3 separate regions of the Homo sapiens genome follow, and regions 2 and 3 are each linked to region 1. The links are contacts of gene promoters, found by promoter capture Hi-C in blood cells and fetal thymus (Javierre and others, 2016). All regions are on one chromosome and are shown on one strand. Each heading gives the region's core, a stretch centred on a gene start or on the middle of the fragment in contact. The rest is flanking DNA. Distances are from core to core; before and after follow the strand shown. Region 1 holds the start of ITGAV (integrin subunit alpha V). Region 2 overlaps CALCRL-AS1 (CALCRL and TFPI antisense RNA 1). Region 3 overlaps TFPI (tissue factor pathway inhibitor).

The links. Contacts are between HindIII fragments. The CHiCAGO score rates a contact against its expected background, and 5 or more counts as called.
Region 2: a contact is called between a fragment that was not itself captured here and the fragment with the promoter of ITGAV in region 1, in 1 of 17 cell types (monocytes). The highest score is 11.5, in monocytes.
Region 3: a fragment that was not itself captured here is called in contact with the fragment with the promoter of ITGAV in region 1 in 2 of 17 cell types (M0 macrophages and M1 macrophages); the score reaches 7.7 in M0 macrophages.

What each region holds. Positions count from the first base shown.
Region 1 is chr2:186,588,383-186,591,305 of GRCh38, forward strand. ITGAV (integrin subunit alpha V) reads left to right here and starts at 1,674. Exons shown (of 30, transcript NM_002210.5): 1 at 1,674-2,141. The coding sequence starts at 1,957. It overlaps LOC124906105 (a long non-coding RNA gene), which reads right to left and starts at 1,514. Exons shown (of 2, transcript XR_007087465.1): 1 at 608-1,514. RefSeq lists a silencer at 1,737-1,966 and an enhancer at 2,097-2,156. The HindIII fragment of the contact is 2,158 bases long and covers 1,265-2,923 here.
Region 2 is chr2:187,459,305-187,462,161 of GRCh38, forward strand. The region is part of intron 2 of CALCRL-AS1 (CALCRL and TFPI antisense RNA 1); the gene reads left to right. Among named protein-coding and RNA genes, the nearest start is that of CALCRL, 12 kb to the left of the region's middle. RefSeq lists a silencer at 1,324-1,524. The HindIII fragment of the contact is 953 bases long and covers 822-1,774 here.
Region 3 is chr2:187,546,349-187,549,624 of GRCh38, forward strand. All of the region lies in intron 1 of TFPI (tissue factor pathway inhibitor), which reads right to left. CALCRL-AS1 (CALCRL and TFPI antisense RNA 1) reads left to right here. Exons shown (of 6, transcript NR_187179.1): 4 at 381-491; 5 at 730-815; 6 at 1,135-1,177. Among named protein-coding and RNA genes, the nearest start is that of TFPI, 6.4 kb to the right of the region's middle. RefSeq lists an enhancer at 481-1,680. The HindIII fragment of the contact is 5,188 bases long and covers 1-3,276 here.

The DNA.
Region 1 (2,923 bases), core at 424-2,923:
AGCTGGGACTGCAGGCGCATGCCGCCACGCCCGGCTAATTTTTTGTATTTTAGTAGAGACGGGATTTCACTGTGTTGCCCAGGCTGGTCTCGAACTCCCGAGCTCAGGCAATTTGCCGGCCTCAGCCTCCCAAAGTGCTAGGACTACAGGCATGAGCCACCTCGCCCGGCCTTTTTTTTTTTTAAACACAGGGTCTTGTTCTGTCACTCAGGCTGGAGTGCAGTGGCAGGCTCATGACTTATCATAACCTGGAACTCCTGAGCCTAAGCGATCTATCTACCTGCCTTAGCCTCCGGCATAGCTGGGACTACAGGCATGCACCACACTCCCAGCTAATTTTTAAATTTTTGTAGAGATGAGGTCTCCCTATGTTCCCCTGGAACTCCCGGTCTCAAGCAATCCTCCTGCCTCAGTCTCCCAAAGTGCTGAGATTGCCAGCATGAGCACCTGGACCTGGTCCAATAAATATTACAAATTCGAATTAGGCATTTCACTTTCATTTATATACATATCCTTTCACAGGATTATTTGATAGTTATTAATGTATATTATGATTGAGTTTTAATAGTTACTTTGGGAAAACAGAAATTACTGTTCCAGTACTTACTTGTAAGTTGTAAGTCCACACAATGCACTTAAACTTCACCTTGTTCAACAGATTCTGTAGCACATGAAACACTTGAAATATGGAAGAGTCACTTCTCTGGGCACTTTGCTCATTTCGTCTGCTATTCATTCACTGATTGGACATTTTATTGATCGACTACTATCTGCTTGGCAAGGTGCTAGAAATAAGAACACTAAGAAAAAGGTCAAGGTTCCTGTCCTCAAGGCCCTCTCTCTCAGTCCAGTGTTGTCAAGGCTTGATGAAACACACCAGTGGCAAACAAGCACGCGGGGCCTTATTTCACCGGTGTGCGGTCCTTCTTCCAGCTCTGAAATTATGTCTATCCAAACATCCTAAATCAACAAATCAGTGTTTCTAAATCATACAACCGCAGCTAACAAACTGGGAATAAGGCTTCGATTATTCTGACTTGATTTAAAACGATCACTGCCAATTCTTTGCCCTGCGAATCCTTTCTTTGACTACTAAGTTAAGCTTTACATACCTCACTTGCAAGAGGCTATGCTGGCTTTCTGGAAATCCGTAATTAAGTTCAGTGTTTGTGGAATGGAGTGTAATTAACGACCATTAATTAACAGGGTTTCGTTCGTGAGAGCCTGCCAGGCTAAGCAGCAGAAACACGAGAAACTGATAAAAAGCTTTCCTCATTTTTAAACAACAGTCGCACGGAAGTTCCCGGCGGGACAAGGGAACGTGGGTGCCCTTGCTACTCCCGTGGACGCGGGTAGATTGGGACGCTGGACCGTATCTCCCCGCCCCCGCCCCCACGCCTCCTCAGGTGCTCAGCCTGAGGCCTTCGTCCAGGAGCGCTGCCGCTGACCCAGGCTCAGGAGCTGGGGGCCCCTGCACAGACGCCCAGGTCTCGGGACAGGCGGCGACTGCACTCACGGAAGTACGCTGAGCTCTCCCCTGTAGAAGGGCGCCTCTCCTCCCCCACTTCCTCCTCCAGCTCCACAGCAGCCTCCCGGGCCGGCTCCTCCTCCTTCCAGGTCTCCTCCCAGTGCCGCCGCGGCTCTCAGGCCTGAGGTGCGGCGCTCACCCCGGCAGTCCCCAGCCTCAGACGCTGCGTGGAGCGGCGGAGCCGGAGGGAAGCAAAGGACCGTCTGCGCTGCTGTCCCCGCCCCGCGCGCTCTGCGCCCCTCGTCCCTGGCGGTCGCTCCGAAGCTCAGCCCTCTTGCCTGCCCCGGAGCTGTCCCGGGCTAGCCGAGAAGAGAGCGGCCGGCAAGTTTGGGCGCGCGCAGGCGGCGGGCCGCGGGCACTGGGCGCCTCGCTGGGGCGGGGGGAGGTGGCTACCGCTCCCGGCTTGGCGTCCCGCGCGCACTTCGGCGATGGCTTTTCCGCCGCGGCGACGGCTGCGCCTCGGTCCCCGCGGCCTCCCGCTTCTTCTCTCGGGACTCCTGCTACCTCTGTGCCGCGCCTTCAACCTAGACGTGGACAGTCCTGCCGAGTACTCTGGCCCCGAGGGAAGTTACTTCGGCTTCGCCGTGGATTTCTTCGTGCCCAGCGCGTCTTCGTAAGTGGCCGCACTTGGAACTGGAGCCGGCCCCCTCCCCCACCGCGCGCACCCACCCAGCGTTTCTCCATTGGGATTGATTTCCGAGAGATCCCGGCGTCTGTCTGTCTCACCCATCCTACCTCTCAGAGTGGTTTATATCCTGGGTGGAGGAAATATTTGGGGAAATGAACTCCCTTTGGTACCCATCACCCAGTTACACCCCGCTTCTCACCTCTTAAAATTGGTTAGGGGCAGCGGGAGAGCTTTGAAGCAGACCTGTGCTTAAAAATCGGGGAAAGTGGGAAATCAACAAAGGCTGGTCTTGCCGGACTCCCCGCCTCCTGTGCCAGTGTCGAGGATTTGGTCAATATCATCCCCGAACTTCTTTTTCTCCTCTACCAGTTAGGCTTCTTGGTAGCCTTTTTCTGCTTTACAGGCTTAACGCCCGTCCTTTTCAGTCTCCCTAAACAAGCCCTCCCCCACTCTTTCCGCCTCTGTCTGATTCTGTTTCTCCTTACTCCTTTTGCAGACATTCTGATGACTTAAAATGACCATACTGTCCTATTGAATTCATTGTGTCTTATCTCTGGGACTGTCAGACATTTGCACATTTGAGGTTGAACAGATGAATTGAATGTGTCATCTGTTCTTTTTATAGTGATTCACTATTTAGGTCATTGTTCAGAAGGAACAAGGGTGTTTGCTGAGTTTTCACTCGCTGCAGGTCATTTGAATACTGCAGTATTTAATAATTCAGTTATGTTTTCAAGTTGCCAACGTTCCGCGTTGCAAGGGCCGTC
Region 2 (2,857 bases), core at 48-2,547, 870 kb after region 1:
CAGTGGCAGAAACTTTCAATAAAAAATGGTAATTGTTTATTTCGTCGTCTCTGGAGTAACAATTTCTTGGCAAGATGGATCATTTAGGTAGCTCACAGCTGTTCACATCTTGAAACTCTGGAAATTTCCCTAGAGTGACTTACAAATTTTGTGGAACATTCTGTTGAGAGTGGGGAATATGTTTTAAAAAAAAATACTGTTGGAAAGTCAAAGTTCTTGCTTTCTGATTCCAAAAACTGACTAACAAGAAGGAAGTAGCAGTTTCCTCTGGCTTCTAATTTAAGAACACCTGCAGCTTAGAAAAAGAGTTCAGTAAATTAGAATTATGCCCCTTGTGCAAATACAGATTAAATATGGATTAAGTCCCTAAAGAAATTCAAGTTCATAATTGAGTTGGCTGATTTTATCTTGTAATGAAAAAGAATAGCAAATCATCAACAATGTTGACAGGAATGAGTTGATTTTGGCTACAATTAGGATTTGTCTAAAACTTAGAATAAATTGTTGATTGAGATAAAACATTTTGGTACTAGAAAAATCTAATTCTAGTTAATTATTCTTAATTAAATTTGGCTTGCTTTTTTAGAATACTTAAGAGACAAAAACGGTCTAAAAATTATTTCAAAACTTCTCATGAGGTTGAAACGCCTTGATGAGTAGTATAAATCAGATCCACATATATTATTTTCCCTACGATATATATAATATTGAGAAAGAAAAAGTTAATGGATTCAGAAATGTTTTTTGATTATAAAACCCATTATTAAGGCATTCAGAAAATCCCACAGTATGTGGGACCTCCTGTAAGGTAATTACTTGGAAGCTTCTCATAAAATCTTTTGATGTTTGGGAATTAATCAGGCACTGGAAAAGGAAATTGTAGGTATAGTCAGTTTGAAGATGTCAAGCTCCATCAGCATAGGCTATTTTTGAAGAATATAGAAGACTACTGTACATAACAACCTTATGCTGGGGGGGGTATGGATATTGCTAACAGTAGAATCCGGCCAATGTTGATTTTTATTTTTTAATCACAGAACATCTCTCCATTTTTTTTTGGCTTAACATATGTTGGTATTAGATACTTTTAAATAGAGAGTATTGCCATAAAATCTTAAAATTACCCAAACCAAAAAACTTGTTTATATAACCAGTCTAGTCCAAAACACTCATTCTAAATATAAGTAAATATGGGGCCAGAGAAATTAGATGGTCAAAAAAATTCATCCACTAGGTTAGTACTGGTACTAGAAACAGTATCTCTTAGTTTATATTCTAAAACTTTTTCCCAAAGCCTCTTTCCCATCTTTCAGCAAAGCACTACACACACATAATTGAAAGATAAGTTAGTACAAACAGACTTCTAGCAAGTAAATAGCCATTCTCCATCCCTCAGACTTCTACATTCAACTGTCTTGTGGCTTCCTTCCATTACTGTCATGGAAATATACAATTCCTTTTTATTTCTATTTCTTTGTATGTGACTTATCCCTCCACAGTCTCCTGTTCTTAGGACTTTTCTCTTCGTTACTAGAATTTGAAATTTCATGTGTGTGCAGAGGGGGTATGTCAGGCGGTTACCCTTTGTTGGGTACAACACACCATTTCAGTGAAGGGAATCTCTGTTATTCTTTTTCTGTAAGATGTCTCTCCCCTCTATTTATCTCTGCTATTTTCCAGATCCTTTTGACACTTCAAGGTAGGGCACCTGAACTAATTGCGAAATTTTATCTTTTCTATCTTCTTTTCCATCCTAATGACCTCTTCTTTCCAAAGCTTAGAGATTTTTTTTTTTAACTTTATCTTCTATTTCTTGATTTTAAAAAACCATTTATTTCATTTTAATTACCAAGAGTTTCTTTCTTATAACCTAGTGTTATCATTGGCTGATTTCTCTGTGAATACTAATTATAGAAGTTACAACAAACAGGAAAATATTTAGCTCCATTTATGTACTTCAATAACATATTTGAATTTTCAATATAAGATTTTTTTATCTAAAAGTTTTTAAAATCATCTTTTGTGGGATTTACTGTTGGGCAAATTAGGGTTTCTGTTCTATTGTGGCTAGTACATTTTTCCTAGTGTACAGAAATGCTATTGATTTTGATACAGGAGTGCTGGGAAGGGACGAGCATGGTCCCTTTAAATGATACCGAACGGGGGACAGGGAAGTGCTGGGTAGAGCAAGGCCGGTTCCTGGCTAGGGCTTCACCCTCTGGCTTGTGCCCACGAACCTAGGTGAGGACAGGCACTCCTGCCTTTGGGCCCAAATGTTGCATTTTCCAAAACCACCCTGGCCCACCACACCCCCATCCTGGGCGGATAAAAACTGAGACCCTAGCAGGCAGATAGATACACAAGCGTCTGGACGTCCAGAGGAGGGGATCAGCGGAAGAAGACACAAGCAGCCGGACATCGAGAGGATGTCGAGGGGAGCATGCCAGTGGAAGAGCACATGACAGACACTGGCAGGACAGCAGGCCATTGACTGGAGGAACGATGTGGAGTTTAGCGAGATCAGGAGGAGGAGAGCACGGGCCGCTAAGCAGAGGGACCCCTGGTGCATCTCCCATCTGGCTCCCCCATCTGCTGAGAACTACTTCTACTCAGTAAAACCTCGGACTCATTCTCCAAGCCCTCGCGTGATCTGGTTCTTCCGGTACACCACGGCAGGAAACCCTGGGATACAGAAATCCCTCCGTCCTTGTGGTAAGTAAGCGGGTCTATGAGCTGGTTAACACAAGCCTGTAGACGGCAAAACTAAAAGAGCACCCTGTAACACACGCCCACTGGGGCTTCAGGAGCTGTAAACATCCACCTCTAGTCACTGCCGTGGGGTTAGAGCCCCATGGAC
Region 3 (3,276 bases), core at 578-3,077, 960 kb after region 1:
AAAACTACTGATTTCCATACTAACTAAATTTGTTTAAAAGCAAAGCTCTTTATGGTATGTTATCGTCATTTCCTTAAGAGGGGAAAAAAAACAAATAAAAGTTAGCATTACATATCTGAACCAAACGGAGGTTTTCAAGAATAAAATTCTGCACAACTACAAAACTAGTAGCTCCAAATGAAAGGAAATGGAATAAAAAACGAATGCAAGATAATACAATGAATTTTTGGCATGAGAGGAAAAAAAAAGAATAATATATTAAATGTGTATTTCTCTATTATAATTACCATACATATTAAAAATGAGAATGATATAGAGAGATTGAGAAACCTGTGGCTACTTTTGGCTATTTTACCTGCTTTTTGTATTTGCTCTTCTAGGTACCTGTTATTGAGTGAGATAAGCAAATGGTATTTCAGGACCAAAACATCTGTTTCCTGAAGAGTTGCTCCTTTAATTGTGTATCTACCTACCTGTCTATGTAACTCTTGGTAAATGAATTAATTTGTTAGTTAAAATCAATCTATTAATTCATAATGAATGGGATATCTTGTGGGAGGTACATGTGCTTTGCAAATACATGGAAAGACGAGACTTTCCTAACAGGTTCTGGAATTCAGGTTGATATTACCTTTTTAAAAATTTTTAAGGATTAATAGCTAAAAAGATCAAGTCAGTTTCTTCATTTCTCCTGAAGGCCTGTTTCCATCAGATTTTATCTCTGCCTAGGCAAATACATTGGAGACTTCTCAACTTTCTGCTTCTGATGATCTCAACTTGTGGTATGGCAAAAGGAGAGCAAAATGTTCACCCAGGTATGGGAATTTCTCACAAAAATGTTACTTTATTATATTTAGGGGAAAAAGGGGGCAAAATCTACACTCATAATACCTGAGACTGGATTTCTAGAACCTTTTGGTTTCAGATTTATGATGAATTAGAAAACTTCCTGATTAGAAAAATGTTATAGTTTCAAATATTAGCTAAAATTTTTATCTGTAAGTACAATAAACATGACAAATAATGATCAGTGTTTTCACTCCTATTAAGGAGAGTATTTTTAGTAATAAAAATAAGCCTTAATGTGAAAAAGCTAAGAATTCATGATTGCTTCTAATGACAAGTATCTGGGAGGGGTCTGAGTTTGGTTCAAGAGAGGAACTACAGCTGTTGGTGACTACAACCATCTGCCCAGATGACATCGTGATCAACTCCTCTGAATCACTCTAAAGGAACGAGAAGTCCTGGCAGCTGAGTCATGATCCCCCAGGAGCCATTAAGAAGTTAATCTTCAGTCACTTCCATCCAAACAGAAGAAAACCCATGAAGGATGAGAACTATGGGTCCTGAGAATGACAGGTAATTGGTGCCACTTTATTCACAGAATCCAATAAATAGTACTCTTTGATTCACATATTTAATGCTCATTATTGTACATTTTTATAAAGACAAGTTAGTCTAAATTGCCATTCATCTCTTTCTTATCAAAGTCCTACCCAACACATGATCATATCATCAGAAATCAGATATTTTCTTGTTGAATGCCCTACCTAACTCATTCAATTGTAATTTTCTGGGAATGGTGACCAGAGATTTGATATTTTTGGAAGTTACATCAAATCCTCATTACTTTATAAGTGATTTAAAATTTATCACATGGTACACTTTTCATATCTTTCAAAGGATTAATATATAAAAAATATATAGTTAATGCTCAGCTTTAAAGACATTAAAGGACAGAGTTATACAGAAAGAAAGATCCAGAGATCTTTCTTTAATAAAGATATTAAAATTGAATCTGCTTATTCAAGTATAATGATAGAACAGAAAGAGATCTTAAAATTGTTTAATCTCTTCCTTGGCTTTCAAAAATATAAAGTCTTCTTTATTGGAGATTTCTTTATCCATAGAATATCTTAATTCCCCACTCCCCAACTTCCTCCCCATGTGAAGTTTTATCTGTCTTTAAAATATTTGTGTTGTCTTCTTCAGGATATATCATTGATTGGCACTTTTTGATTCTAGTTTTATATACTGTTATCCTTGTATATTAAAGTAGGTCTCAAATATATCTTTCATGGTGGTGTGTAAGGTTCTGAGAGAGCTGGAAAAAAGGTATAAGCTCCCTTCTAAAGTGCAAGTATATACTTGCAGAGATATTTTTTCACTTACATTCTTGGAGATCATCCATGGTCTCCCCATGTCTTTTACAAAAGAGGTTTCCAGCACCTATTAGGGAAGCTAGATGGTCACTTGTATCTTCCTTATCTCTGTATTAGATGATAATATCGAATGCAGGTAAGTGGTGGTGGGGAGAGTAATATTGACAGAATAGTTATATGGCAAACATTGGCACCTCAGAAATTTTTTGCTTTTTTGAGGGCTCTTATTAATATTTGCAAACTTTAAAAAGCCTTGAAAAGAGTTTTATCCAGAGCTCACCACATATAGAAAAACAGATCTCTCTTGTTATGGGAATTGAGGCTAGTCCAAATTCCCCCAGATTAAACATCTTTCCTCATTTGGCACATTCTTCAGCTGTTCCTTAAGAAAAAATCATACTAAGGAAAGTTAATTCTGGGAAGTCTAGAATTAGAATAAAATTATTACACTAAAAGGAAAGCCCAGATATCTCTTTAAAAATGCTTAATTTTTTTGAAAACTCACATCAGCACCAGATCATTTCTTTAATGTGTACAGATTTCCTTTCTTCATTGACTAAATAGCTTTGCTAAACGAGATTAAAACCACATAACTCAAATGAGACATATAAGATCTTGAATAATGTTCACATAGCTACAACATCAAATTCCAGTGCTAATATAAATTATGTCTACTACGTTTTCATTTATTTGGGATTATCTGTTTGCCTCAAGTGGTGTAAAAAAATTGAGCAGGAACCACCTGAAACTTCCTTTCACAACAAGAGAAAGTTGTAATTTGTATTTACTTTACCTAGCTTTCTTTATATGAATGTAGCCAAGAAGCAGGGGAGGAAGGACAATTACAGGAAATTGTGATAGGAAACTATTAGGAAAAGCAATTTGTAATTTCTGCTAAAACTCTAGGTAAATAACCCTGAGCATTCATAGTCTGGCAAGTGGGAAGTACCTGTTGAACAAGTGATCACTTGATTGATTTTAAGCATGTGGAGCTCATTTGTCATCTAAAATATAGAAGAGAGTGAGATATTAGCTTCCTGAATAGCTATTGTTATTTAGAAAAAATAATGAACCAATAAACTTCTTACATAAGATGAAATAACTGTTTTCTAGA